Linked DNA regions of Homo sapiens: regions 1 and 2 are each linked to region 3. Evidence: promoter capture Hi-C in 16 types of primary human blood cells and fetal thymus (Javierre and others, 2016). All regions are on one chromosome and are shown on one strand. The core of a region is centred on a gene start or on the middle of the fragment in contact, and the rest is flanking DNA. Distances in the headings are between cores, read along the strand shown. Region 1 overlaps PIK3AP1 (phosphoinositide-3-kinase adaptor protein 1). Region 2 overlaps PIK3AP1 (phosphoinositide-3-kinase adaptor protein 1). Region 3 holds the start of PIK3AP1 (phosphoinositide-3-kinase adaptor protein 1).

Evidence for each region. The method cuts DNA at HindIII sites, captures the fragments that hold promoters and counts their contacts. A CHiCAGO score of 5 or more calls a contact.
Region 1: a contact is called between a fragment that was not itself captured here and the fragment with the promoter of PIK3AP1 in region 3, in 9 of 17 cell types (monocytes, total B cells, erythroblasts and 6 more). The highest score is 9.8, in monocytes.
Region 2: a fragment that was not itself captured here is called in contact with the fragment with the promoter of PIK3AP1 in region 3 in 6 of 17 cell types (total B cells, monocytes, naive B cells and 3 more); the score reaches 9.5 in total B cells.

Annotation. Positions count from the first base shown.
Region 1 is chr10:96,660,488-96,664,255 of GRCh38, forward strand. All of the region lies in intron 2 of PIK3AP1 (phosphoinositide-3-kinase adaptor protein 1), which reads right to left. Among named protein-coding and RNA genes, the nearest start is that of PIK3AP1, 58 kb to the right of the region's middle. The HindIII fragment of the contact is 3,622 bases long and covers 134-3,755 here.
Region 2 is chr10:96,677,956-96,682,143 of GRCh38, forward strand. All of the region lies in intron 2 of PIK3AP1 (phosphoinositide-3-kinase adaptor protein 1), which reads right to left. Among named protein-coding and RNA genes, the nearest start is that of PIK3AP1, 40 kb to the right of the region's middle. RefSeq lists an enhancer at 822-1,081. The HindIII fragment of the contact is 1,133 bases long and covers 1,032-2,164 here.
Region 3 is chr10:96,718,034-96,721,933 of GRCh38, forward strand. PIK3AP1 (phosphoinositide-3-kinase adaptor protein 1) reads right to left here and starts at 2,481. Exons shown (of 17, transcript NM_152309.3): 1 at 2,349-2,481. The coding sequence starts at 2,361. RefSeq lists enhancers at 2,003-2,112, 2,963-3,072 and silencers at 2,243-2,492, 2,543-2,842. The HindIII fragment of the contact is 16,174 bases long and covers 1-3,900 here.

The sequences.
Region 1 (3,768 bases), core at 695-3,194, 58 kb before region 3:
AGGAAGTGGAGCAACAAGAACTTGCATCCTTTCCCGAGGTTCTTCTCCTTTTCTGGTAGGAATGCATCCTTTGCTGGCAGGAATGCAAAATGGTACAGCCACTTTGGAAGACAGACTTACAAAACTAAACACAAGCTTACTAAACAATCCAGCAATCATGCTCCTCAGTATTTACCAAAAAGAATTGAAAACTTACAGTCACACAAAAACCTGCACACAAATGTTTATAGCAGCTTTGTTCAAAACAGCCAAAACTTGGAAGTGACCAAGATGTCCTTCAGTAGGTGAATGGATAAAGTGCGGTACACCCAGACAATACAATACTATTCTGCACCAAAAAGAAATGAGCAGGCAAGCCCTGAAATGCCATGGAGAAAACCTGAATGCATATTACTAAGTGAAAGAAGTCACTCTGAGTCAGGCATGGTGGCTCACCCCTGTAATCCCAGCACTTTGGGAGGCCAAGGTAGTTGGATCACCTGAGGTCAGGAGTTCGAGACCAGCCTGGCCAACATGGTGAAACCCTGTTTCTACTGAAAATACAAAAATTAGCCAGCCATGAGGCCGAGAGGCTAATACAAAAATTAGCCTCTCATGAGGCTGAGGCAGGAGAATCACTTGAACCTGGGAGGTGAAGGTTGCAGTGAGCTGAGATTGCGCCACTGCACTTCAGCCTGGGAAACGAGCAAAACTCCATCTAAAAAAAAAAAAGCCAATCTGAAAACACACTGTAGGATTCCAACTATATGACATTCTGGAAAAGGCAGAACTATGGATCACTGATTGCCAGTGGTTAGGAGGAAAGAAAGAATGAATAGGCAGAGCACAGAGGCTTTTTAGGGCAATGAAACTACTCTGTATGATACTATACTGGTGGGTGCATGTTATTAGACATTTGTCCACACCAATAGAGTATACAACAGTAGGTGAATCCTAATATAAACTCTGGCCTTCGGGTGAGTGATAATGATGCATCAATGTAGATTCATCAGTGGTAACAAATGTGCCACTCTGGTGCTGGATGTTGATGGGGGTGGGAGGAGGCTGTGTGTACATAGGGGCAGAGCAGACATGGAACTTTGCATGCTTTCCACTTAATTTTGCTATGAACCTAAAACTGCTCTAAAATATAAAATCTACTCAAAAATATTAGCCAGGCATGGTGGCATGTGCCTGCAGTCCCAGCTACTTGGGAGGCTGAGGTGGGAGGGTCGCTTGAGTCCAGGAAGTGGAGGTTGCAGATTGTGCCACTGCACTCCAGCCTGGGAGACAGAGCGAGACACTGAGAAAAGGAAAGGACAGGATAGGACAGGACAGGACAGGACAGGACAGGACAGGACAGGAAAGGAAAGGGAAAAGGGAAAGGGAAAGGAAAGGGAAAGGAGAGGGGAAAGTGAGGGGTACTATTTAGATTCTTCCTAATTCTTATAACTCCAAAATAAAATTTAGATGGATTAGAGATTAAAATGCAAAATAAATAAACAAATTTTAAAAATTAAAAAGAAAATACATGTGAACATTTTATCAGTGGTTTGGGAAAATATTTGTTAAACAAACAAAAATCACAATCTAAATGAGCAAGACTTGATAATATAAATTTAAAACTTTAGTAAACAAACAAAAAACTAAAATCAAAATGCTGTAGCAGCATCATTCCTAATAGTCAAAAGGTGGAAACAGCCCAAATGTCCATCAACTGATGAATGGATAAACAAAATGAGGTATGTCCATATAATGGAACATTACTCAGCAATAAAGAGAAATAAATTTCAAAACAATATGTTGTTTTATATAAATAGAGACACATTTTCTTATTATAATAGATAAATAAGGCCGGGCGCAGTGGCTCACACCTGTAATCCCTGCACTTTTGGGAGGCCAAGGCGGGTGGATCACCTGAGGTCAGGAGCTCGAGATCAGCCTGGCCAACATGGTGAAACCCTATCTCTACTAAAAATACAAAAAATTAGCCAGGCATGGTGGTGGGCGCCTGTATTCTCAACTACTCAAGAGGCTGAGGCAGGAGAATTGCTTGAACCCAGGAGGCAGAGATTGCAGTGAGCCAAGATCGCGCCACTGCACTCCAGCCTGGGCAACAAGAGGGAAACTCCGGCCGGGCGCGGTGGCTCACGCCTGTAATCCCAGCACTTTGGGAGGCCGAGGCGGGTGGATCATGAGGTCAGGAGATCGAGACCATCCTGGCTAACAAGGTGAAACCCCGTCTCTACTAAAAATACAAAAAAAATTAGCCGGGCGCGGTGGCGGGCGCCTGTAGTCCCAGCTACTCGGGAGGCTGAGGCAGGAGAATGGCGTGAACCGGGGAAGCGGAGCTTGCAGTGAGCCGAGATTGCGCCACTGCAGTCCGCAGTCCCGCCTGGGCGACAGAGCGAGACTCCGTCTCAAAAAAAAAAAAAAAAAAAAAAAAAAAAAGAGGGAAACTCCATCTCAATAAATAAGTAAATTAAATAGATAAATAAAAATGAATGATGTACTGATAAATGCTACAGCATGCATGAATCTTGAAAACATTATGCTAAGTGAAAGAAGATAGTCATAAAAGACCACAAATTATATGATTCCAAATATATGTCCAGGACAGGCAAATCTATAGAGACAGAAAGTAGATTAGTGGTTGCTTTGGGCTGGGGAGATTGGCAGGATTGTGGGACAATAGCTAAGAGGTATGAAATTTCTTTCTGAGGTGATGAAAATATTCTAAAATTGATTGAAAATACTCTAAAATGGATTATGGTGAATATTGCACAAATCTGTGAATATACGAAAAAAACATTGAATTGTACACTTTAAATGGATAAATTGATGGTATGTGAATTATACCTCAACAAAGAAACCAATGGCAGGCTGGGCGCGGTGGCTCATACCTGTAATCCCAACACTTTGGTAGGTTGAGGCAGGTGGATCACCTGAGGTCAGGAGTTCAAGACCAGCCTGGCCAACATGGTGAAACTCCGTCTCTACTAAAAATGCAAAAATTAGCCGGGCATGGTGGTATACGCCTGTAATCCCAGCTTCTCAGGAGGCTGAGGCAGGAGAATCACTTGAACCCAGGAGGCAGAAGTTGCAGTGAGTCGAGATCGCACCACTGTACTCCAGCCTGGGCAACAGAGTGAGACTCCGTCAAAAAAAAAAAAAAAAAAAAAAAAAAAGAAACCCATTGGCAAATCACAAACAGTTTAAAAATTTGAAGTAAAAATGATAAGGGGCTAATCTTCTTAATATACGAAGATGTCACGAAATCTCTTTTAAAATACCCCAAGACCAATAAGAAGACAATTCATAAAAGAAGGAATACAAATTACCTCCCCATTCAAACAAATATCATTCATTCTCACTAGTCATCATGAGAATGCAAATGAAAATACAATGCTGTCTTGCTATTTTAGCTTTTCAAATTAGAAAATGCTGTGAAGTACACCCAATAAACTTTAAACTTTAAACAGTGCAGGGTTTAAAGGTGACTGGAGGACAGATACCCCCCAGCTGCTGAGGGAAGTACAAACTGCACAATCTTTCTGGAAAGCCATGTGTCCACACCCAGAGAAAGAGAAGGCCTTGAAAATGTTCACAGCTTTTGCCACATAATTCTATTTCCAGAAGTCTCTCTTAAGGAGGAAAATAAAAGTCCAAAATAAAGATTCTGAACCAAGAGGCTTTGCATCAGTGAAAAAACTGAAAACAACCTAAAAGACTATTAAAAACATTATTTTCAAAGAGTTCTAAGTGACATGGGTAAAAGCTTACGGCATG
Region 2 (4,188 bases), core at 348-2,847, 41 kb before region 3:
TTTATTTATTTATTTATTTTTAGAGACAAAGTCTTGCTTGCTCTATTGCCAAAACTGGAGTGTAGTGGTGTGATCATGGCTCACTGCAGCCTCGACCTCCTGGGCTCAAATGATCCTCCTACCTCAGCCTCCCGAGTAGTTAGGACTACAGGCATATGCCACCACATCCAGCTAATTTAAATTAAAAAAAATTGTAGGCTGGGCACAGTGGTTCATGCCTGTAATCCCAGCACTTTGGGAGGCCGAAGTGGGCAGATCATCTGAGGTCAGGAGTTCGAGACCAGCCTGGCCAACATGATGAAACCCCGTCTCTACTAAAAATACAAAAAATTAGCTAGGCGTGGTGGCACACACCTGTAGTTCCAGCTACTAGGGAGGCTGAGGCAAGAGAATCGCTTGAACCCAGGAGGCGGAGGTTGCAATGAGTCGAGATCACACCACTGCACTCCAGCCTGGGTGACAGAGTGAGATCCTGTCTCAAAAAAAATTTTTTTTGTAAAGGCAGGGTTTATCCATGTTTCCCAGGTTGGTCTCGAACTCCTGGGCTCCATGGATCCTCCCACCTTGATCTCCCAATGTGCTGGGATTATAGGCTTGAACCACTGTACCTGGCCTATACTATAATTAAAATTTTAAACTATTATTTTAATAAATGCACTATAGAAGGAGGGTGTGAGTCAAAAGGGAGCATGGGTTAAAACAGGTAGAAAATTCCTTCCTTGGGATCTTGCAACCTATGACCCACCTCTCCACCACTCCTCTGAGCCTCTGTGCCCACTGCCTCAACACCTTCCTCCTTTTCACTTTTCCTTTTCATGATATTGTAGTCCTTTGTATGTAGTGTTTTGCCAACCCTGCAGTCACAATATAGTTTATTTCCTCTTTGTTCAGGTTCAACAACCTTCCAAAAGTAGAGACACAGACCCCTGTAGGGGAAGAGGAGAGCGACCCACTAATACCAAGTAGGCAAGGAGCACCTGGAAGGTTCTCATACACAAAAACCTCCCCCACCTCCACATTCAACTAATAAAAGCTTCATCTGAGTTATCACACTGAGGATGATGCAAATGCTCTGGGGAAGGTTCAGCTTCACAGACAGTCACACTTTAGTAAGAATTATTTTTGAATCTTAGATGATCAGAATTTGAAAGAACCTGAAGAATCATTTAGTGCAAATTACACTCAAGGATTTTTTTTTATCATGGTCAACCTCTACTTGAATATTACAGAGACAAGAGCTCCCTTCTTGAGTCTACTCCACTGATGTGCATTTTGAATTATTAATATCTGGGCTGGGTGCAGTGGCTCCTGTCTAAAATCCCAGCACTTTGGGAGGCCAAGGTGGCTGGATCTTTTGAGGTCAAGAGTTTGAGACCAGCCTGGCCAACATGGTGAAACCCCGCCTCTACTAAAAATACAAAAATTAGCCAGGTGTGGTGGTGGGTGCTTATAGTCCCAGCTACTCAGGAGGCTGAGGCAGGAGAATCTCTTGGACCTGGGAGGCGGAAGTTGCAGTAAGCCGAGATCTCGCTGCTGCACTCCAGCCTGGGCGACAGAGCAAGACTCCGTCTCAAAAAAAAAAAAAATTATTAATATCTGTGAAAGCTCATCCTTATCTTTAGTCCAACCTTGCAGAATCTGTTAAGATAGTTCTGCTGCAAGCAAGAGAAATCCCAACTCAAAATGCCTTAAACATTAAGGACATTTATCTCCTGGAATCCAAAGCCCAGCATTCAGGCAGGTTTGGGGTTGGTAAGTGTTCAGCCACAGCACCAAGGTCCCAGGTTCTTCCCATTTCTCTATTCTACCATCTTCAGCACAAATTCTCAAGCTGGTGGCAAGACGGCTGTGGTAGCCACAGGTTCACTTCACAACAAGGTCCAGAGGAAAAGAGAAAAATATTCCCACGAGCATGGAACAGAAACTCTTCCCTTCATTCTGACTGCTCCAACTTAGTTCACATGACCAGTCACTGTCCCCAGGGGAGTGCCATGCAATCCCCAACCTTGTAATCACCCAGGGTGGAAAGAGTGATGGGACTCCCACTATCATGTCCACCCTTCCTTCCTCTCAGCAACCTCCACCTCAAATAGAGATCTCCCTTACCTTGCAACTCAGAACACAGCCTCAGCCCTTTCCAAAAAATGGTGCATAAATGGTTCCAAGCTTCTTGGTTGTTCTTCTCTGGACATATTCTAGTCAGCCAGTTTCCTTCTAAAAAGGTGGCACCCAGAATGGAACACCATTCTTGGTAGAACATACTGAAATTATTCTAGGACAAAGGAGCCATTCTCTTATTAAGGTAGCTTAATACTGTGGTAGCTTTTAGCGGCCACATCATACTATTGATTTTTTTTTTTTAACTTTTAAGTTCAGGGGTACATGTGCAGGTTTGTTATATAAGTAAATGGATGTCATGAGGGTTTGTTGTACAGATTATTTTGTCATCCAGGTACTAAGCCTAGTATCCAATAGTTATTTTTTCTGATCCTCTCCCTCCTCCCACCCTCCACCCTCAGGAATGCCCTGGTGTCTGTTTCTCCCCTCTATGTATCCATGTGTTCTCATCATTTAGTTCTCAGTTGTAAGTGAAAACATGTAGTATTTGGTTTTCTGTTCCTCTGTTAGTTTGCTAAGGATAATGGCCACCAGCTCCATCCATGTTCCTGCAAAGGACATGATCTCATTCTTTTTTATGGCTGCATAATATTCCACAGTGTATATGTACCACATTTTCTTTATCCAGTCTACCATTAGTGGGCATTTAGGTTGAGTCTACGTCTTTGGTATTCATACTATTGATTGCTTTTTAACAGGTAGTCAACTATAAATCCTGCAATTCACTTTCACATGTTGATGCCATGTTGGATTTCTGCTGTGCTGCACTAGTTCAATTGCATTTATGGACCTAAAAGCAGAACTCAGGATTATCATATTGAACTAGATCAAGACAATGTTGAATAATGCTTCAGTCACTCAGTGTAAAATCTACCCAGTCACCTACGAGTGTTATCCATCAATAAATCTGTATTCATTTGCTAGGGCTGCCATAACAAAACACCATAGACTGTGTGGCTTAAACAATAGAAATTTACTTTCCCACAATTCTAGAGGCCACAAGTCCAAGATCAAGGTGTCAGCAGGGTTGTTTTTTTCTCGGGCCTCCCTGCTTGGTTGCAGATGGCTGGCTTCTCACTCTGTCCTCCATAATTTCTCTTCCGTGTGTGCACACATCTGTGTCCTAATCCCCTCTCCTTCTAAAGACACCAGTCATATTGGATAAGGGCCCATCTATATGACCTCATTTTACCTTAATTACCTTTTTAAAAACTCTATCTCCAAATCCAGTCGGGTTCTGAGGTACGAAAGGTTAGGACTTCCAAATATGAATATAAGGTAGACACAATTCATCCCATAACAAATGTGATGTCTGACTTCTGTGTATGCCTCAAAGTCAGAGAATAACTGGCCACGAAACCTAAACCAGGGCTGCTGGCTCTCCTCTAGACACTCCCTCAAGGACGACCATTAATCCAATTATTCTCTCATATTATGCTGAGATCAGTCTCTTTGGAGAGCAGATTTCAGCTAGGTTTGGGAGAGTGTTGAAGAGAAAGATCATTCTGGAAACTTGGGCCCAAAAGGGGGCTCTAGTAGGATGTTTCCACAGTCAAAGTAGGTGACTCTGGACATGAAGGCACCGAACCGGAGGCTGCTGTGCAGAAGATGAGTCATAATGGAGAAGGGTAAGGGAAGAAGAGCTGGAAGGTTATCAGAAGGCAAATTTGGTGACTTCCCAATTTTACTTAGGACATGGGTAGCAGCAACTGCATCTGGAACACTTTTAAAATTATCCTGAGTGCCTGTATCACAGAGTGACTATGCCTGTATGCAATTACCCACGAGGGCAGTGATGACCACATTTTGCTCAGGGACTTAAAGATCCAGGTTTTTATAGATGTGTTAATGAAAAGTAATTGGTATACTTTCTCACTCTTATAGACTTTAAAAAATATGCATACATAAATATATGTGTGTGTATATATATATATATATATAGAGAGAGAGAGAGAGAGAGAGAAACAAGGGGGGGATGCACTATTAGAGCAACTGCACACAAATACTAGAGAATGAAATAGCTAGCACTATAGAGTAAGATTTCGATAAACAAACACCTGTTCATAGATC
Region 3 (3,900 bases), core at 1,231-3,730:
TGTACAAAGGAAGCCAGTCACCAAAGACCACATACTATGTGATTCCATTCATATACAAGCCCAGAGTAGAGAAATCTATAGAGGCAAAGTAGATCTTAGGGCTGGGAGAGGAGAGGAGAATAAAAGGTTGATACCTAAAGCATACAAGGTTTCTTTCTGAGGTGATGAAAATGTCCCAAAATTGACTGTGGTGATGGCTACACATATCTGTAAAGATACTAAAAACCACTGAATTGTATGCTTTAAATGGATGAATTGTATGGCATGTGAATTATATCACAATAAAGCTGCTTTTAAAAGAAAAGAAGAACATACAGAAGGGTGGCTGGATGACTCCAAAGCCCACAGCACCTTGGCGAGCGGCATTGCTCTCACCACTGTGATCTTCCCCCATGGGTCCTTGTACTTCCAAACCTCAGGGAACCCGAGGGACTCCAGAGACCCAACTCTCAATTACAGCACCTGGAGTGGTGTCTCGCCACAGAAGACGCAGACAGCAAGACAGTTTGACAGCTCTAACCATTACAAACACCTGCAGAAGCTGCTACAGAGCCCATAAATAGCCCCAGGTTTGCCCACCGGACTAGGGTCCCCCTCTGAACTGGAGCTCGCCTTCCTAGCTCCTTCGGCTGTGTCCACTGGAGAGAGGTACACAGGACGCTGGAAAAGAGGAAAAGAGAGGCCATTTTCTCAGACTCTTCCACCCAAAGGCCCTCCCAGTTTGCGGTTTCCTGGACTCAGCAGCCCAGGGCCTGTTCCTGACCATGGAAGGAGGAGGCGGCTTCACTGGTTTATTATCTGGCCTCATCTCCCTCTCCCCCACAGCCCACCTACTCCAGCCACTCTGGCCTACTCCCTTTCCTTTAACGCACCACATACACTCATTGCTTGGAGCACTCTTCCCCAAAGAGCCTCCTCCCCCTGGAAATCTTGGCTCAAATGTGCCTTTCTCCACCCTGGCCACCTCATTTGAAAATCCTAACCCCAGTCTCCCTCACCCTTCTTTATCGTTTTCCCATAACACATGTCATACCAGAGATTTTCCTTATTAAGTGTATATTACCTGCTATTACTAGGCCTCCTTATTCACAACACAGCTTCTTTTAGCCTCCAGAGCCCAGCTGGAGAGCCAGGAGGCTGTGATTAACTACCTTCCCATCCCCTTTAATGAGCCTGTAGTACATGGAACAATCACTCCTGGCCTTTTCTACCTCTGCTTCCGAAGCACCCTTACCAGACCCTCAGAGGATCTGGGGAGAGCTGGCTCTTCATTCCAGTGTTTGCTCACCTCCTGTAAGAACAGTGCCTTCTCCTGGCCACCTAGATTTTCTTTTTCAAGGGGCACCTGCAACCTGTTTTCACAGGTTATCCCTACTAAAACATCATAAAGTGGGCTGGGAAAATACAAGTAAACCCATTTGTAAACACTGTAACTCTACCTCCTCTCATCTAGTAATTCCTTGTTTACTTATTGCTTTCCTCTACAGGACCATAAACTCCTGGAGAGCAGAGACTAGGTGTTTCCTGCCCACCATGGAGAACATATTAGGTGCACAGTATCCATTGGAGTGCAATAGTAAGGACTCATTAATTGTCTCCGTTATCATCATTATGTGGCTTGTCCTGGATCTCCGTCAGTGAGCGACTTGCCAAGTGTGTACACCCATGAACCAGAAGGCAACCCAAGACCAGCCAGAAAAGACGCTTGGCACCCTTTGATGAGTACATTTACCCAGTGACCGCCAACTCTCCCCATTCCCCAAAGTTCTGCAAAGGACGCAGGAAAAGTAAAGTTCAAGGAATAGTGTTCCTAGATCCCTAGCAAAGTTCTAGACCCAAAACACAAAGCCTGGGAGGGGTGGAGGAACGGGGCTTGGGGAACTGTCCCAAGGGCCTCCCCGGCTGATCTCTCCGCACCACCTAGGACTGCCTGAGCGCCCCCTGTGGGTCCACGGAGCCCAGGAGACGCGTTTGGCCCTGTAGACCATCCACATCGCCCGCCCTCCGCTTCTCTCAACTCGCCTCTCGCTTCAGAGTCGGAGGGACAGGGGAAGCGACGCTCAGACACTCCTAGGGCCAGAGGTGGAGGGAGCGAAGGAGACCCTGAAGAAGTGGGAGGGGGTCGGGCCAGGCAGGGGCTGAAGAGAATCGCGCCACAGGCTGGGACGGGAAACGTGGGAAAGTTGGAGTGGGAAGTTTGCGACAGGGAACATAGAAAAGAGCAGAAAGAGGGCAAGATCCCCGCACAGAGGACGCAAACAGAAGCAAGCGGGGGAGCGCGCCTCAAGGGATGCGGGGTACGAGAGAGGGGCCGGGAGCCCGGGGACCCGCGGCGCCTGCCTACCCACCTGAGGCTGCCATGCCGCGGGGCGCCGCTCACATCCCTGGCTCGCTGCGTGCCCGGGGCCGGGACCGGGGCCGGCGGCGTCCTGGCTCGGGCTGGAGGGGCGCCGGGCTCCGCGCGGGACCGGCCGCCGCTCTGGCGCTTCCTCCCTCAGGGCAGCCCGGCCTCGCCACGAGGGCGTGTCCACAGAGTCCGCCCCGCCTGCGGGACTCGGCCCGCGGCACCTGCACCCGCGGCCGTTGGGGAGGGGAAGTGAGAACCCCATGCCGGCCGCCGGCCAGCTCCCCCCACGGCCCCCTGCTCAGGGGCAGCGAGAAGGCGGGGGCTTCGCGCCACGTGCGCCCCACTCCTCGGGAAACCAGCCCTGATCTGCCACCAAAGGGCAGCCCGAGGTGGAGGGGGTGTGGGGAGGAGGCGGAGGGGGAGAGTGTGGGGCTGCCAGGCCTCTGGGAGACAGGGCGGGGGTGTGTGTGTGTGTGAGCACCAGCTGTCCAAGCCACCTCCTCATCGCCTGGGGCTTTGTCCCTAAGCCCCTGCTGCCCCAGCAGGAAAGGGGAGGGGACAGGAAGGGGAAGAGGAGGAGGGCTGGGCACCTGGCCCTGGGTGCTCGGCGTTGCCCTTGAGTGCCCTCCTGTGATCTTTCTGCCGTTCCTTGGATCTGGTCTCCTGATGGCACATGAACATTAATTATAATGTCACATGATAAATGTCTAATAGAGTTTCTCTGCCATTCATTTCCTGTGTTCCTGTCTGCTGGGCGCTGCGTTTAGCACCTTACACACATTATCGCATTGCATCCTCACAGCAACCTTCTGAGGTAGCACCTATCACTGTCTTTACATTGGAGCCAAAGAAACAAGCCAAATACCTTGCTCAGGCTTCCACAGAGAACAAAAGCTCCCGGAGGTTCAGTACCAAGCCAGTCTGCTTCCAGAGCTAGAACTCTTGCTTAACCCTTGCCTTCACCTGCCCTCTTCTTGGACTCCTCCCTTTGCCTGCTGCCGAAATTCAACTGAATAGCACATCCCCTTGGAGTTCTCAACAATCCAGGGGCCAGAAGATGGACCCAGAGAGCAGAGATGAGGCAAGGTTAGGGCTGAAGTCCAGGTGGAAATAAAATGAAATGGATTTAAGAACGGGAATATCAGGATGAGGCCGTGCATTCATTTTCTTCTGTTGCCATAATAAATTACTACAAATTTAGTGGCTTAAAACAACACCAACTTATCATTTTACAGTTCTGTAGCTCAGAAGTGTGACATGAGTCTCCATCGGCTAAAATCAAGGTGGTGGCTGGGCTGGGTTTCTTTCTGCCAAATAGAAGGGAATCAATTTCCTTGGCTCTTTCAGCTTCTAGAAGCCATCCACATTCCTTGGCTCATGGCCTCCTTGTTCTATCTTCAAAGCCAGATGGCCCTGCTTCTGTCATCATATCCCTTTCTCTGACTCTCTTCTGTCTCCCTCTTCCAGTTTTAAGGATCCTAGTGGCCGGGCGCGGTGGCTCACGCCTGTAATCCCAGCACTTTGGGAGGCCGAGGCGGGCGGATCACGAGGTC